Regions from separate parts of the Homo sapiens genome. Here all the other regions are linked to region 3. Evidence: promoter capture Hi-C in human tissues and cell types (Jung and others, 2019). All regions are on one chromosome and are shown on one strand. Each heading gives the region's core, a stretch centred on a gene start or on the middle of the fragment in contact. The rest is flanking DNA. Distances are from core to core; before and after follow the strand shown. Region 1 overlaps TRDN (triadin). Region 2 overlaps TRDN (triadin). Region 3 holds the start of CLVS2 (clavesin 2).

The links. The method cuts DNA at HindIII sites, captures the fragments that hold promoters and counts their contacts. A contact is called where the count stands out against the background at its distance.
Region 1: a fragment that was not itself captured here is called in contact with the fragment with the promoter of CLVS2 in region 3 in 2 of the 25 tissues and cell types used here (H1 embryonic stem cells and dorsolateral prefrontal cortex).
Region 2: a contact is called between a fragment that was not itself captured here and the fragment with the promoter of CLVS2 in region 3, in 2 of the 25 tissues and cell types used here (hippocampus and thymus).

The regions. Positions count from the first base shown.
Region 1 is chr6:123,322,793-123,326,037 of GRCh38, forward strand. All of the region lies in intron 23 of TRDN (triadin), which reads right to left. The region is part of intron 1 of LOC124901393 (a long non-coding RNA gene); the gene reads left to right. Among named protein-coding and RNA genes, the nearest start is that of TRDN-AS1, 120 kb to the right of the region's middle. The HindIII fragment of the contact is 8,405 bases long and covers 1-3,245 here.
Region 2 is chr6:123,395,228-123,398,351 of GRCh38, forward strand. The region is part of intron 12 of TRDN (triadin); the gene reads right to left. Among named protein-coding and RNA genes, the nearest start is that of TRDN-AS1, 43 kb to the right of the region's middle. The HindIII fragment of the contact is 5,436 bases long and covers 1-3,124 here.
Region 3 is chr6:122,994,978-122,997,917 of GRCh38, forward strand. CLVS2 (clavesin 2) reads left to right here and starts at 1,258. Exons shown (of 6, transcript NM_001010852.4): 1 at 1,258-1,769; 2 at 2,242-2,940. The coding sequence starts at 2,801. The HindIII fragment of the contact is 5,962 bases long and covers 1-2,940 here.

The DNA of each region.
Region 1 (3,245 bases), core at 252-2,751, 330 kb after region 3:
ACCACGCCCAGCTAATTTTTGTATTTTTAGTAGAGACGGGGTTTCACCATATTAGCCAGGATGGTGTTGATCTCCTGACCTCGTGATCCACCTGCCTCAGCCTCCCAAAGTGCTGGGATTATAGGCATAAGCCACCGCGCTTGGCCTGTCCCACCTTTTTTCACTGTCTTGTGAGATCTTTGAGGACAGGGAATATGTCTTTTCATCTTTGGAGCCTCACTGCCTAGAATAGCCACAGAACATTATGTGAACACTCAAAAATTGTTACGGATATATAACAAAATTAAAATGCTGTTTCAAAATGACAGGAAAATCAAAATGCTAACTTCATTTTTAGGGTGTTTAAACCAAAATATGAAGCAGAATCCCTGTCTCACTATCCAAAACCCTTACATGTATGGAAAAACACATTAGAACTGACTCACTAGACGTTGAACCCTGGTGTGCATTATCTTCAGATATTTATATTTAATTTGTCTGTCTAGTAAAATTATTCAGAGTGGCTACACGAACTAATTTGTTTATTGTTAGTTATTTCAGGAAGCAAGAGCCTCAAACTACTGACATCACTGCTTTTCCCATAACACATAGACACACACACAAGCACACCTCCACACACACATGTTCTCTGTCTCTGTCTCTGTCCCTCTTACACACCTCTCAAACCCATTAAGTCAACAACAGAAACAAAACAAAAACAATTATGGTTGATAAGTTTCTGTAGGTGTAGTTCTAAAATGGCTCCAGTTTGTAATGCAGGCGCTTAAGTCATGACTCAATGCTTTATGCCTAAGTCCTGATTCTGCAATCCTTCCTTGGCAAAATTCCCAATGGAGTTTGATGCTTACAGAAAAACTTTGCTGAGTGGACATTAAACACATAAAATGGGCCACAGGGCATTCTCTCTTTTCAGCACAGAATAAATGCATACATTGTCCCTGCCTTATTCTGTCATCATTTCATTTTCATGGTCTTTTGTCTTTTGTATATGCTAAATGCAATGTACCACACTTCTGATAGTGTCACTCTGCTTTTATCTGTTCTTTCTTTTATGCCTACTTATATGCTCCTCATTATTCTTTCCTTCCCTGAAGCTTCCCAGTGTGAAGAGTGTGCATTTAAAATAGGTGAGATATAATTGGAGGTGGCTGCATGCATTTGTAGGTCCTGCAGAAATTGTCAGAATCAGGCCCTGTGATGTTATTTGAAGATGGCAGATGGCGAGTTGGAAATATTTCAGCTAATGAGCCTGCTGACTTTAAACCATTCAATGAGTTCAGAAAGTTGTGCAAAGGCCACTTACCAAGGTAAACAAGCAGGCATTCCTTAGTTTTCCTTTACTGAGGGGAAGTCACTAGACTCTTGCTTGTTTTTCTGGGTACCAGTATCGATTTTCTTGAATTTGAAGTAAGAATAATCAATTAAGTAGATAAAATGTCATAGGTTTAAGTATGAATCATCTTATATCTTGTTCAAAAATGTAAAAATAATAGAAGACTTACAGTAGAAATAATATATTTTTTAAAATGTTAATGGACAGAAGCCAGGTGTGTGGTGCATGCTTATAATTCCAGGTACTCAGGAGGCTGAGGCAGGAGGAGCTCTTGAGCCCAGGAGTTTGAGGCCAGCCTGAGCAACAGAGCAAGACCTCATCTCTGAAAAGAAAAAACAAAAAACAAAACGAAACAAAATAAAACAAAAAAACCTTCAAGGAGAGAAGCATATTAGAACATATGCATAAAATAGCTTGGAGTGATAAGACAGGTTGCAGTGAGATTGTGACCCATTCTTTCATTCAATTCTGCCTTTTGAATGAGGGCTGATATTTAAAAAATACCAAGGAATGAATATTGGAGCTCTACACTTAGAGTTGCACGTGTATTTCACCTACATACAGCTGTACACATGTTGCTGTATATTAACATTTTGGATGAAGATTATAAAAATTCTCAGTGCTTGGATACAATACTTTTGTATAGCTAATGCTTGCAGAGAAAATCCTGGCCCCCTCAACTACTTTTGAAAATAATACATGACCTCTTTCCATCCTATCAACTTGACATTTTGGCATAATGGACATAACAAGAAATGTGTTAGGCTGTAAATTGCTGCTTAAAGTGAAAGTGCTACTGTTATGGGTCCAACTTTCACTTTAACAATTCTTCAGAAAATGAGTAATCATGGATTTTAAAGGCATCTTCTAAGATTTTATTCTTTAGAATCCTGATTGGTCTTTTTTATTAATCAACAGATTATCTGTAATCTTCCTTCATGCCTAGCAAACACAATAAAATTATTACAAAGACAAAAATTTTGACTATGTGTTAGGATAAGTTTTGCTAATATATTCCAATATTGAAAAAAAGAAAAATAAGATTATTTTTAGTGGTTATTAAGTCTGATACTAAGTAGCTAATTCAGCATAAAAATCTTGGCTAATCATTTAATCTTTGGGCATCAATTTCTTCACTGTTAACATGACAGTTGTAGTATTTCTCCTTAAAATACTTCAGGGCAGAATTAAATCATGCTAAGAATTTATATTAGAGACTAGGCACCAAGAAACTCAGAAAAAGTACAGAAAAATTAAAATACTAATGTTGATTACTAAACCAAATATTCTAGACCCAGTATTAGACTATGAAAATATTTTACTGAAAGTTCTAATATTTCGTAGAGGAGGACAATGACATGAGTGAAGATGACATATGTGAATTGCAATACTATTGGAACATTTTAAAAATTTAGAGTAGTGAATAAAATATATAGATTAATTGAATCTTCTTAGAGTTATCAGTTTCAAAAGACAAAATAAATCCCTGTTATATCAGTTTAAACAGAATCAGAACACTAAATAACTTTAAAACTGGAACTTTGGGGACAAAACTCCACCTTTTTATGTTAATCACTGGACACTGGAATATTTATGGTCTCTAGATGTAGCAAGACAAAAACACTGGTTAAGTTTACTATGGCATATGTTGAATTAACTTATTCTGAAAGGTGCCTTTTGGGATAAGTCTCTGAGACCAACTGTCTTGATTCTTTCTTATAAAAGCAGACTACACAACACATACTCCTTCAATAAATCATTGAGCTTTCCCCTGCAGGTTTGTATCTGAATTAATCAATATTAAAATAGTGCTTATAGAAACAACATTGTACCTTTGCAATGAGACACAAAAACTAGTGACAACTGAACATGCAAAATTACCAATTTCTGTAAAATAAATAGCAGAGAGAGT
Region 2 (3,124 bases), core at 179-2,678, 400 kb after region 3:
CCTCTTAAATCACTGATCCTAAACAACCTCATCACACCTAAGATTCTATTAGAGCACGGAGGTCACACACACCTGCAAATTATGTAGTGCTTTTCCTAGGGCCTTATCACTTCTCCCACAGACTGTTTGGTTTCTCTGTCAGCTGCTTTCTCCCTCAGCGGTCAGGTTCAGAAACATGCCCCTGAGTGCTGAGTTTTCCCATTTGAGTGTCCCAACAGGCTGGTCATCTCTCAATGGGGTTTACCTCTTTAATAACCTTAGCCTGTCCTGGGTTGGGCTGTGTGCACATAGATTGGGCATGTTTTAGGGTTCCTTATCTATGGGCTCTTCTTTCTACTAAGACTTAGTTCCCTCCCTAAGCCTTCCCTGCCCCTCATTGTCCCGCGTCCAACACATGCCAAAGAAAACAGTCCACAAATGCACACTGATGCATTGAAGATACTGTTTCCAGGTAAAAGTGTATTTTAAAGAGGTCATTCTACAATGTCTACCTGCAAAAGAAAGATTTCAATGGAGGAAAATCTCGGGATCATAGCAGTATCATGTTTGTCCCTCATAACTCCATCTATTCCTTCTCTGATTTTAAGCTTTAAAGTTCATTTATGAGGTTGGTGCAAATGCAATTGCAGTTGCACGAACCTCAATTGCGTTTTCACCCGTCTAAAATATTAGTTCACAAACTACTACATGATCTACATCTCAATAGAAATTAACAGTTTAAAACCAAATGCCTTTTCAGTAAGTCTGCCAGCTTGCATCCAACCAACAAAAATATCATCCTTGAAACTATTGAGGACACATGCAAAGAAGATCAGATTTGACATCTGCTCTTGCACAGCATTTCCATTTTCAAAATTGCATGACATTAGGGGAGGAATCGACCCTGAGTCCATACATGTACAACACAAGAAGGCTGCACCAAATATTGTACTACTGAAAACACATTAATCCAGACAGACAAATTTTCATTATAAATAATTTTTCTGTCTCCTTTTGATTTCTGCCAACTACAAAAGAAACTACATTTTTGTTAGGGAAAATTCTAAACCTATACAAAAATAAAAAAGACAGGATAATGAGCCCACCGTTTCCAACACCTACTACAGTATTTCATCTGTACTGCCTCCACTACACATATTCTAATGAAAATTTCATCATATCAAATGATTTTATCTTGTCATAGTTTTGTTTATAGCTGTGTTTTTGGAAATAAAGTACAATGACTTAAATAAAAAACAGATGACCATAACAATATTCAACTAAAGATTATAGTAATTCTGAAATTGATAAATAGTATTTTGGACTTTTAAATCAGAGACAGGATGGACCTAGATTAAAATGTCAGCATAATTCACTTGGGGGTGTTTTTTCAGGAAATTATCAGAGAAGTTAGTATTTGTAGATCCCTGAAACATGCGGTATTTATATAAACAAATTGTCATGAATCAGATGAGCCAAATGTTTCAATGTCTTCTGATTCCACAGATATGGAACAACCTGATTTACAAAACTGAAAAGATATCATTAGTCTGCAAACATTTTGTTAAAGAGCCAATTTTTGCACAGAGATTTAAATATTAGTTTAATACGATTAACTTTTCATTTCTAGGACACTGTTTATATTTTGACTTCATTTAATGTAAAGTGCAAATCCATTACATTTTCAAAAATAGGTTTCACATAACTTTAGTGGCAAATGGACTGCTACACTGTCAGCAGCCAGAATTGGTCTTTGGCTAATGGACAGCAGGTAAAGAATAATAGTATTGCTGAGAAACCTACCCACATCTTACATGTTTTTGAGCATTCTCCCATCTCTGAAAAAAAAAACAGTGTATTTATTATGTTTTAATTTTAGAATAAGTTGGTAGAGATCAATTATTACTTCAAAAGAGACAATAAACAATGTTATTCAAATACCTGAATAACATGTAAGTCTCTTACTTATAGTAACAACAAAATAAATAAGAAAGACTCCCCCCATCTGCAGTGAAGTGGCTGGCCATTAGAGAGAGGAACTGACAGGGGCAGGAGAATGAGTAGCAGCAGATGGTAAAGCAGGTAGTGGGCTCCTACCACACAGACTTTATCCTGGTTATTGACAATACCCAGCCCACTGACCTCCACAGTACAGATTTCCATTTCAATGTGAAATCATATAATTATTTACTCGTACAACTTCCCTTCCTACTACCCTATAAATTCTCTGAGATCACTGATTGATTGTCACTTATTCAACTTTATAACTCCAGACCCAACAAACTGCTGGAAAAATTGTCTCTATGAAACAGTAAGAAATGGCACAGAATATCTAACTATAAAAATGAAAAAAAATCCAATTGACTGCTTTGAAATGGAACATTAAGCTCAGGGATCTATTTCACTTTTAAGATGACGCAAAATCTCTTTTTCTCTTTGATCACTGATTATGTGTTATTCAGAAAGTGTATTAACTCTAAATTTTAGAACTAGATTTTTAGTAGAATATATGGTAACCCACATTGCAATTGGGAATTTTGTAAAATTAACTAATTTAGACAAATTTGCAAATTTTTAATTAATTTGCATGGATTTTGTTAAAAGAATAGGAGGAGAAACAAACAACAAAAAATGAAAATATTGGAATTCTACTTAAGAGCATGTTTGAGATAAACATTTTTTCAGGATTCAAATTATGAATCAAATTTATTTTATTAATCTTCCAAAGAAATGAAAACAGCTTTAAAGCTGTCTCTTGCTACTTCATCAATATTACAAGGAACTTAGACTGTTCTTATTTTCTTTTATTTCTTTTTGAAATGGTGTCTCACTCCGTCGCCCAGGCTGGCGTGCAGTGGCACGATCTTGGCTCACTGCAACCTCCGCCTCCGGAGTTCAGGCAATTCTCCTGCCTCAGCCTCCTGAGTAGCCGGGATTACAGGCGTCCGCCACTGCGCCCAGCTAATTTTTTTCTATTTTCAGTAAAGTCAGGGTTTCACCATGTTGGTCAGGCTGGTCTCGAACTGCTGACCTCGTGATTCACCTGCCTCGGCCTCCCAAAGTGCTAGGATTACAGGTGTGAGCCACCGTGCCTGGCCGACCGTTCTTATTTTCTTAGGTAAGAAAACTAAATATAGAAAAGTTG
Region 3 (2,940 bases), core at 8-2,507:
TATAACACACATATACACACACTTAAGTGGTTTATTTTCTGCCTTCCCCATTTAAAACATAAATTCCTTGACAATAATGACTGTGTGTGTGTGTGTGTGTGTGTGTGTAATTTATTGTCTTATTCGGGTTCCTACATTAATTTGCATTAATTTAATTAATAAATGCTCTAGCTCTACCATACAACCCTTTTCCTTCTTTCTTTTTATCAACACCATCGCCATGAGAAGAGCAAAAACAAGTGTGCCTGTATTTTGAGGGTTCTCATAGTCATCAACATTGAAAATGACAAGATAAGAAATGTCAAGATAAGAAAATGACAAAATTTGCTTATCTTCAAGACCACCTCCTATACACAGAATGCAGAAAAATGCCCCACACCTCGTGGAACTCAGTAAATATTAGTTGCATTGAATTAACTTCAATTCAAGACCCCATTCTACAGTTTATAAAGTCAAAAGTTGCTCTTAGTAACACGCTCAGTAATATGTGCTGTGTTTTGAAAATAGAAAATATCCCTTTTCCTCAAATCCATAGATAGTCATATTAAGCGCAAGGACTTCTGTTTATTTATAATGATTCTCATATACAGATGCATACAACTGAAGGAAGGATGGTATGTGTTTCCAGAAATATTTGCTTTATGATGAGATATGAGTGAAGTTCCTATTTTTTTCTTCCTTTGAGAATTATGTTTTTATTATCATTTACCCTAGTGCTCATTTTCATCCTCTTCAACAGAAATTTAGCAGGGAGACTGGTTGAAAAACTATTCATATAAGTTCCTCCGGAGGCTTAATCATCAGTACATTGTCTTGGAACCACTCTGGTGTTTTCTAAATTAAATATCTCTGTCTACAACAAATGCGAAAAGTACAGAATGTTTCCGTACTCCTTCTACATCAAAATTGCCTCCTACAGGAACGAGAAAATGCGTGTCAATGTGAATTACCGTCTACAACAGCTACTCTCCAGGCTGATCTGGGGTCTTGCACACAAAGGGCGAAGAGAGGGGCGTGGGGAGGCTGGAAAGCATGGTTGCCCCGCCTGGCCCGGCGACGCCCGCTCAGCAGCCTGCTGAGGAGTGGGGACGAAGAGCAGCCTAAACTTAGGGCTCGGGATATTTCGATGCCACCCAAATTGCCGTCCTACCCCAACGAGGCAGGGAAAGGAGCGGAGCGCGCGCGCGAGCTGAGTGAGTGCTTACGTCGCAGCGAGATCTGTGCTGGGATAATTAGAGAGGAGTTGGGCTGAGCCGAGTCCTCTTTCAGCAGCAGCAGCCGGAGCCGCCGCCGCAGCCCGGTGGGGCAACCCTGACTCGGACCGCTCGGGAGAGCCCCAGGAGAGGCCAGCGCCGCGCAGCAGCCGCCCCGCTGCGCCCACCTCCCCGGCTGCTCCCGGAGGGCTCACAAAGGCGGTGGCCGCCCGAGTGGCCTTCTCCATCCAGGCGTTCGCGTCCTCCTCCCCACCTTCTCTCCCGAAGGCGAAAATGGCAGGGCCAGGCGAGAACCTGGGACAGCGGTGGCCCTAGCCCTGCGATCCTCACCCCTCCTGCTAGGAGAGGCTGCGGGCTGCCCGCGGACGATGTGGCCGCGGCTGCTCCCGAGCGCATCTTCGGCCCGGGTCCCCGCCGCCACCCCTCTTCTCTGCTCCTTCCATCCCGCCCAGAGGAGTTGATGCCGCTGTCGCCGCCGCCGCCGCTGCTGAAGCCGCGGCTGATGGATGCCAGGGAGTGCCGCATTGCTTAGCGACCCCGCCTCTGGGTTTGCTGGTAGGAGCGGCTGCTCTTTCTTCTTTCTTGCTTTGGGGTTTTATAGAAAAGATAAGGACATTTTTATTTTATTCTTCACAACGTCCTCCCCTTCTCTTCGTTTTTGAAATGTGCATTCCCAGAGATATCCCCGGTCCCCTCCCTCCCCCTCCCCCCTTTTCTCCAACCCCGCGGCAAGTCCGTGGAAATGAAGGGCTAGAGGAAGGCAGAAGTTGGGGGTGGGGTTGGGGGAGCCCACGCTGGTACCAACGCCACCAGAACCCCTGCTGGTGCCTTATGAGATCACGGTGTATCTCAGAGGGGTGGTGGGAAGGTGCGCTATCTGCAGAGTCTTCACCTAATTGGATCACAATAATCTTAAATAAATCACACAAATTTGTCTTTTAAAAATAGCGTCTTTGAATAAGTACAGGGAGAAATAATCTCCTTTCTCCCCCCTCTTTCTCTCTGTCTCTTTTTCTTTCTGGCAAAGATGATCTCTCTCCGCCCTGGAGCTCAGCGCTGAAGAGCTACCTTATTATTAATCAGAATTTCCATCGCCACCCCTGGCAGGCGTATCCTTCAGCAGGGACCGCAGGAACATTCACAGTGCAGGGGCTGAGATGTGCGTGGGGGTTGTTTTTGTTACATCTTGGAAGAGAAGAGAAGAGGACAGTACCAAGATCAGAAACACCCGTGCTAGGTGGAATTAGGGGTGATTTGTTAGGAAAGAGAAAGGACAAGAAGAGGAGTGCGGAGCCCTTCAGGGGTTCACATCTCTTTAAAGGAAAGGAAAGAGGGAGCCAAAGTAGGGTGTTGTATTTTAGGGGGCAGAGGAAGAAGTTTACACCCCCCGGCCCCCCCAGCTTTGCTGGGGGAAAGCAGGAGCAACAGGGCACTTGATTGGACACCAAGATTATTAATTTCCTGTAGGGGAGAGGAAGCAGGCAGCAGGAGGTCTGGGGGCTGGAGTCTGGTGGTGGCAAGGACCAGGTTTGCTTTGGGACAGTCAACAAGGTCTTCTGAGGGAAAGCTCAGAGATAGGCAGAACAATGACTCATTTGCAAGCCGGTCTCTCCCCTGAGACCCTGGAGAAAGCTCGCCTGGAGCTCAATGAAAACCCAGACACGCTGCACCAGGACATCCAGGAGGTGAGGGATATGGTCATCACCAGGCCGGACATTGGCTTTCT